2 separate regions of the Homo sapiens genome follow, and region 2 is linked to region 1. The links are contacts of gene promoters, found by promoter capture Hi-C in human tissues and cell types (Jung and others, 2019). All regions are on one chromosome and are shown on one strand. Each heading gives the region's core, a stretch centred on a gene start or on the middle of the fragment in contact. The rest is flanking DNA. Distances are from core to core; before and after follow the strand shown. Region 1 holds the start of CMKLR1 (chemerin chemokine-like receptor 1). Region 2 has its middle 51 kb from the start of CMKLR1.

The links. Contacts are between HindIII fragments. The study calls those that stand out against the background at their distance.
Region 2: a fragment that was not itself captured here is called in contact with the fragment with the promoter of CMKLR1 in region 1 in 1 of the 25 tissues and cell types used here (pancreas).

What each region holds. Positions count from the first base shown.
Region 1 is chr12:108,336,905-108,340,995 of GRCh38, forward strand. CMKLR1 (chemerin chemokine-like receptor 1) reads right to left here and starts at 2,407. Exons shown (of 4, transcript NM_001142343.2): 1 at 2,123-2,407. RefSeq lists an enhancer at 1,840-2,463 and a silencer at 2,571-2,690. The HindIII fragment of the contact is 8,294 bases long and covers 1-4,091 here.
Region 2 is chr12:108,387,778-108,391,868 of GRCh38, forward strand. No RefSeq gene overlaps it. Among named protein-coding and RNA genes, the nearest start is that of CMKLR1, 51 kb to the left of the region's middle. RefSeq lists an enhancer at 2,975-3,269. The HindIII fragment of the contact is 3,825 bases long and covers 1-3,694 here.

The DNA of each region.
Region 1 (4,091 bases), core at 1,157-3,656:
TTACTCTTTAGAATAATCTTATGAGGCAGTTACTGATCATATTCCCATTTTATAGATGAGGAAACTCAGGCACAAAGATGAGGAATAACTGATTCCATGTCACTCAGTTGGCAGGTGGCAGGCCAATTCAAGCCCACCCCCAGAGTGATAATAATATCAAATAATATCATCCTTATTTACAGATGATATTATTGTGGCCAGAGAGTGGGAGTACCTTGCCTAAGACCAAGGTGCCCCTTCTTGCACAATGTTCTACTCCCTTTTGTGGGGAGGTCTAGCATCAGAACTCTCCAGGCTTCTGTTTCCTAATCTGTAAAATGGGCATGTTAATAGTACCTTCATCATGTGGCCATGGTGAGGATTTGATAAAATCATCTCGAGAAAGTGGTTTGCAAACTGAGAGGAGTTATTAGGTAAACATCTAAGAGATGGGACTTCAGTCCAACTTCCCCCACCCCATTTTACAGATGGTGAAACTGACACCTGGTTACTTTATTTATTCCATGAACAATGACCCTAATATATGCTAGTTCTTGTGCAGGGGACTGAGGATGCAGAAAAAAAGTAATATCCCAGATCTGGCCTCTAGGGGCCTCCCGGCTAGAAGGAGAGACAGACAAGATGACTGGTCATTAGAACACGGTGTGGTAGGAGCCGTGATAAGGGAGGGATAGGCCCTGGGAGAGCCTAGCAGACAAGCCCTGACCCAGTGCGGGTAGGGGACTTCTCAGAACAAGTCAAGCCAGAGAAAGGCATGACTTGCCCAAAGTTAAGGTTATCTGTTCCCTGAAGTTTTGGGGGAGTCCAAAGAAGGCCCCTGTGCATCAAGAGATAACTCTCCTGTGGACCTCCCAAGTGTATGACACATCATCATTTGAGTGCCACTGGTTTAGGTTAAAGAAAAGGCCAAGCTGCCTCCTCCTGCACCAGAGGCCTGAATGACCCAGTCACACTCACCTCAGCAGCCAAGGCATTTAGAGGAATCTTACCTTCAAACCAGTTTGGAAGGGGCAGGAGATACAGCAAGAACCACAGAGAAGATTGGTCTTGAGAAGGAGGTAGGGGATGCAAAAGGGAAGTTGAGGGCTTTCCCTAATAGAAAAAGAAAGACTCAGAACCTGGACGTTCAGGCGTGTGACCTCAGACCAGTGATCTGGCATCTCTGAACCGCACAGGTCTGAGTGATTGGGCTTATATCAAGTAGTAGTTCCCTGATGTTGTAATGCTTATAATTTTGCCAAAGCTGGCTTGCCCATTTAAAATGGGCTATTCTGAAGACAGAGGAGGGAGTGGAATATTTTCAACAGAGAGTGCCGGCAAAGGTTTTGTGTCCTTTATATACAAAGAACCCTTAGATATCAATTGGAAAAAGATAAACATGCCCCCAGAGGAGAAAAAAATGGGAACAGACTTGAACAGGAGAGTCAGACTAGAAATGTGAAAAATAAGTTTATAAAAGAGAATCAACACTAACAAAGAAATGAAATGCCTATTGAAGCATCTAGATATTATTCTCGACTTCACATCAGGGAAAGTTTAAGGGATGGGTAGCAACAAGGTGGGTTTAGTATGTGAGAATACTGTGCCCTGGTATAACATCGTAGAGAGGTCAAGCTGCCACGGCCTTCCAGGGTGCAGTGTGACCAAAAGCTCAGAAGTCTTAAAAATAGGCAAACCTTAAATCTAGCAATTTCTAAAAGGTATTCATAAGACACACACACAAAGATGTCATACTAAATATTCATTGCAGCACTGTTCTAATAAAAAAAAAGAAGCAAATCTATTATGGAAAAGTCAAATAATCTTAAGATAGCCTTTCTATGCAGCCATGAAAAATGTATATTGGAAGAATATAGGTGATATGGAAAAAAGTTCACAATCTGTGGTTAAGCAGGTTACCAAACTAGATGTGGAAATCCACATTCATATATTTAGTTGTGTATCCTTGCTATTTCTTTAAACAATGAACATGCATTACTTTTGACATCTGAAAATAATAACAAAACTCTTCCTTTTAACAAATATGAAATTATAAAAAGAAACAAACTTTTCTCTCTGTTAGTATTCATTCCCCTTCCCTGGCCCCCCTCAGAAGACACCCAAGGCAAGTGTGTGATGATACCTTCCCTCTGGTCTCTGCCCGGAAGGTCTTCCTGAGGGTTCCCTGTGACTGCAGGCCACTCGAGGCTGTTGGGGAGACTTGCACACCCTGGCTTCTTTCTGCCAATCACAGGCTCCTCTGGCTGTGGCTGTTTGCCCAGAAAGCAGTTCATTCATTTGTTCATTCAAGATCCCCCTCTGAACCCCCAGAGCGCCGCAGCTGGAACACCCCTATCACCCGGAGGCTTCCCAGGGAGCCTGCTCTGTCCTGAGCTCCCTGCTGGCCGCCGGGGCTGCTTCCCTGAATGGGACTGGGACAGAACTCAGCCAGAGAAACAGCTGGAGGGAGGAGAGCAGGAGGGAGGGGCAGGAAACTGGGCTGACCTAGGGCGGGGGCGGCTAGCTGCGTGGAGAGGGGGCTGCGAGGGGAGGGTGCCCCTACCAGCCGGGGACTGGGCTTGTGGGTGGCGGCGGGGGCCCGCTGGGGACGACCCGCCCCTCTGGCAGCCTCTTGCAGCCGGGGAGCCGTGCCCACTGAGCGCAAACAGGGAGCACATCTGAGCACCCGGCTGCTGGGGGAAGTGCAAGCGCCTCTGCTCCCGGTGAGGGGCTCAAGCTCCACACTGACCGAGAGATTGGCTGCCTCTCACCCTGGGCCTTTGCAACGCTGTTCCTCCCACCTGGATGCTATTCCTGCCCTAATTCGTGGCCCGATGGTCTCCTACTGCCTCTTCAGGTCTCAGGTTGAAGGTCACCTCCCAGGGAAGCCTTCCCCAACCCTCGGGGGCTGCTGTGCCCCTCAGGGTCACCCCATCACCTCACTGATGCAGTGCTGTCCTTGCCTGTTAAGATGTCTCTCTCCTTGCACCGAGAACTCCTTGCACCAGGAACTCTGTAGGGAAAGAACTGTATTCTGTTCCCTGCCCTAACCAGGCGCTAAGTGCCTGGTTCATCGGCTGTGTGGTCACCATCATTAGTGGAATAATCAAAACAACCGACAGCCAGGCAGCGTGCTAGGCGATGCGTACTTACTCTTCACGGCAACCCTAGATAACAGGAATTATTACTACTCCAGTCTTACCAATAAGGAAACTGGGGTACAGAGAGATTAAGTCACTTGCTCAAGACCACACCGCCAGCAGCTGACAGAGCTGGGATTCCAACTATGTTGTCTGGCTCGGAGGCCCACCCTTGGCCTCCAGACTGAAGAAATAACAGAAGTGCCCATGTGGGCCCCTGTGCCAAGTGCTTCCATGGAGTAAGCCGTGTGAACCACCACCCACGTCGGGGGGGCATCACTTGCCCATTCTACACATGAGGATGCTAGGGCCACAGAGCAGAAGTCGTTTTGCCCAGGGCGCCAAGCTCATGCTGACCGAGCCATGGCTGGATCTGAGTCTGTCTGATTCCAAAGCCAAGACTGCCTACGACTGCCTAAAATAATATTTTTAGAAAGAAAAAGAAAAGGGAAGGGCAGGGGAGGGGAAGAGAGGGGAAGGGAGGAGAAGAAAGAAAGGAAGAAAAGGGAGGGCAGGGAGGAAGGTAATGGGGAGGAGGGGAAGGTGAAGGGAGAGGGAGATGGGGAGGGAGGGAGAGAAGGAGAGAAACCTGTGTTTTGGGCCTCAAAGTCTTGGGCAGGTGGAGGACTATGTCCTCATCGTCTGATCAGCCTTAGAACCCCACCGACCTCTCCCCACCATCCTCAATCCTTTAATTCAGTGAGCTTTACACTTAGAAACCATCTAATTTCATTCTTCCATTTCACAGATAACTTGAAGCCCAGAGAGATTGAGTCTCTTGCCTGAGGTCACACAGGTCTCTATAGTCAGAAGTCAGGCCCAGTCTACCCAACTGTCTTCCTTGCTCTCTTCTTCTTTGGGCTTATCTAGGGAACAAAACATCATATCGAAACACTTACTGTACAGATGAGAACACTGAACCCAGAGGAGGCAAGGGACTCACCCAAGGTCACCCAGAAGTTAGTAATTGTA
Region 2 (4,091 bases), core at 532-3,031, 50 kb after region 1:
TTTATTCATAGCAATGCAAGAATGGACCAATACAAGGGATTATATTAGGGATCTCCAGAGAAGCAGAACCAATGGTGGAGAGAAAGGGAGAGAGAGAGAGACAGAGGGAGAGAGAGAGAGAGAGAGAAATTGGTTCACATGATTAGGGAGGCTTAGCAGGCCTACAATCTGCCATCTGCAAGTTGGAAACCCAGAAAATTTGGCAATGTACTTCAGCCCAAGTCCAAAGCCCTGAAAACCAGAAACACCAATGGTGTAAGTCTCAGTCTGAGGGCAGGAAGAAACTGATGTCCCAGCTCAAGCACTCAGGCAGAGAGCAAATTCAACCTTTCTTGGCTTTTGTGTTCTAGTCAGGCCCTCAGTGGGTTGGCTTATGCCCACCCACCTCCGGAAGGGCAATGTGCTTTATTCAGTTCACCTATTTAAACACTAATCTCTTCCAGAAACATCCTCACAGGCACACCCAGAAATAATGTTTAACCAGATTATCAGCATCTTTTAGTCCAGCCAAATTGACACACAAAATGAACCTTCTCAGGGATCATTAGGACTTAACTGAAAAATCCATGAGTCAATACATGAGTTACAGACCCTCTGGAGCCCACCCATATCCCCTTGCCCTCACCACTTCAGGGCACATTGGCCCAATTCTGTTGTCAGCACCTGAGGGCTTTCTCAGGTCCAAGGTTGGCCTGAAGTGCTGGGGCATCGGTGCCTCCTAGCAACATCCTCAATGATCAAATACCAAAGCTCCCCAACTCCTCAGGTAAGATAACTCTGAGGCATGTTTTCCACACAGTTTCCCAGAGCCTCCCAGTGGGATTGGGCTCCAGCCACCCACAGTGATGACTGGTTTAATAATGGATGCATTTTAGGCTTCTTCCCTTCCTTGTCTCACTTCCCTGTTCCCCTTCTGTTTCCCTCATTTCCCATATAAACTTATATATATATACACATATACATATATAAACTCATTTCCCATATTAACAAATCCTTGTCTCCAGCTTTGCTTCCAGGGGAACCCAAGCTAAGATATCATTTCAGTTGCTGTTGTTGTTTTATGAGGTTTAGAATCCTAGGGAATAGACAACACCCATATTCTGTGTGGGTCCAGAAGTCAGAGCCAGCATTAACCTGGAGGAGCTTCAGGGAGGCAGATTCAGCCTCTACAGAAGAAAAGCCCCTCTTCACTCCCCCTAGGCAAGATCACACGAAGGAATAACTGTTGTAAGTGATGCCCATGTGGTGCTGATGCTGTTACACAACTGAGACCCCTGCAGGGCTCAGGACTGAGACCCCTAGGCTCACCTGACTCCATGATCTACCTTGATCACTGAGCCTGCACTGGCAGCTCTCACTAGACCTGCCCTGGCTCCATTTTCAGTCATCACCCTACATGGGGCCCAGCCTGGCTATGGATGGTGCTGGCCCCTCATTAAAGTACCTGATGGGGAGAGAGGAAGAAGAGCAGATGATGGAAGGATAGCTGCTAGCTAGTAGGAGGACATTACAGTGAAACCCCAGGGGAACTAAGGGACACTAGTCACCAGCTTGGAGGGCAGCCCAGAAGAATGCTGGCTGGGGCATGGAAATTTGTGCCAAGACTGGTCAAGCCCTCCCTAATCCTCCTCTTCCACCACCATCATCACCACCACCATCATCACAATCATTATCATGATCACTACCACCACCATCATCATCACCATTATCACCACTACCAACACTATCATGATCATCACTATCACCATTATTATCATCCCCATCATCATTATCATTTCAGCCATCACCACCATCATCAGCACTATCCCCACCATCACCATCAACATCAGCATCACTATTATCACCACCACCATTATCACAACCATCATCATTATCACCACCACCATTATCACCATTACCACCACAATCACTATCACTACCACCATCATCACCATCACCATTATTATCATCCCCATCATTATTATCATTACGACTATCACCACCATCATCACCACTATCCCCACTATTACAGTCATCATCATCATCACTATCATCACCATCACCATTATCACAACCATCATCATTATCATCACCACCATTATCACCATTACTACCACTATCATCACCATCATAATCACCACAATGACCACCATCATCACCATCATCCTCATCATCACCACCACCATCATCATCATGGCAGTATTACTCATTTTTATGAGCTTGACACTGTAAATGAAGTATCTCTATCCCTATCATAACCCTGCCTCTAAGGACTGTTAGTTACTCTCATTTTACCAAGGAGGAAACTGAGGGTCATACAGGTAAAAAATCATTCCTAAAGTCATCACAATCACAAAATACAATCAAAATACCTGGTTTGAGGTAGGTTCAAACCAGATCCAGCTGGTGTCAAAATCCATGATCTTTCAAACACCCTCCATATTCATCCATTCATTCAAAAAAACACATCAATCTGTTGAGCACCTACTATGTGCTGGTCACTCTATTGTATTATGCCCAATCCTCTGAATAGCCCTGAAAAGTTACCCAGAAGATTGAGGCTCAGAGGGGTAAAGAGACTTGTCCAAAGCCACACAGCTGGTGAGTGCCAGAAGTAGATTCAAACCCAGGTCTGTATGGCTTTAAAGCCTGAACTTTTGCAACTTCATGGTCTTTCATTCACTCATTCATCCTTCATTAATGAATGAATTAATCAGGCAAATATCCATTTTACAATGCCCACTTTCTGCTAGCTGCCTGGACACACCTTCTGGGGGCCTCCTTTGTGGTAGGGTTTTGGGGTAACAAGCAAGGGCACACAGAGCTCAAACAGAAGTTTGGGGAGGCATATGCTCAAAAAGACCAGAGAAAGTGCTCTGTGAATTGAAAGATCACTTCTAGCTGGGGAAAATCAAGGCAGGCTTCCTGGAGGAGGAGGGTGTCTGGGCTGGGCCCTGAAGAGTGAAGAGGCATTTCCCACAATGAAATAAGAAAGAAAAGCATTCTAGGCAAAACGACCAGCACAAGAAAAAACATGGGGCTGGGAAGTTGGTGGGGGATGGTACAAACAAGGATTGGATTGGTTAGGCTGGAGGGTGGGGCAAATACAAGAGTAAAAATGGAAGCTGGACAAGAGGTCGGGAAGGTTCATGGGGGCTGGGGGCCAATTGTGCAGGGTGTTCGATGTCAGCCCGAAGGAGCCTGGGACTTCATTTCACTGGCAAAAAGCAGCCATTGAGGGCTGTTAAGATTAGGAACATGAGAGCAGCTGGGGTTTCTGACTCCCCGCAGTGCACAGAGGGCAGACTCCAGCAGGGAGACCTATTATAGAAATCTTTGTAGGAGGCTGCTACAATAGTCCACGTGAGACTCGGGGCTCAGACTGGGACAATGAGTTGGGAAAGGGCAGCTATAAGTGGAGAAGCTTCCTAAGCTGCAATGTGCCTGCACCAAGAAGGGGCTGATGACCTCCACCACCAGGTTGCATGGCCTCCCAGTTTGATATGCACAGAGGAGAGGAGGTGGGGCTGGTTCTGTGAGTTTCCAAAACTAGAAGGTCCTTGCACTGGTGCATTCCATTTTTGTGAGCCTCCATTTCCTCAACTATAAAATGAGAATGGTAACATCCACCTTAGCTTTCCACTTTTATTATTGTTATTATTATTATCATCATCATCATCAGTATTATCAGGAACCACTGGTATCATACATTCTGAAACACTCATTTTTTAGATTATGTTACAAACATTTATTGAGCACCTACTGTGTGCCAGGAACTGAGGATATAATGAGTAAATAAGCATCAGTTCCTGACCTTGCAAAGTTAAACATCTAGGAGAAAGGCCAGAGCATTTGACAAATGATGTGTGATCCAGTGAGGGTCTTCATGGGGACATCGGGAAAGATTCTCAAAAATAAATTGACTTGAACCAAGCAAAGAGGGAGATGGTGTTCCTGGCAAAGGGAACAGCATGTGCAAAAGCCTGGAGGCTCCAATAGTGACAAAGCTTAGTCAAGAAAGTTAAAGACATCCCTTTTGCCTAAATCATAAGGTGAAAGGCACTGAGGCAGAGATGGAGAGAGGGCAAGAACTAAGGTTGGAAAGGTCAGGA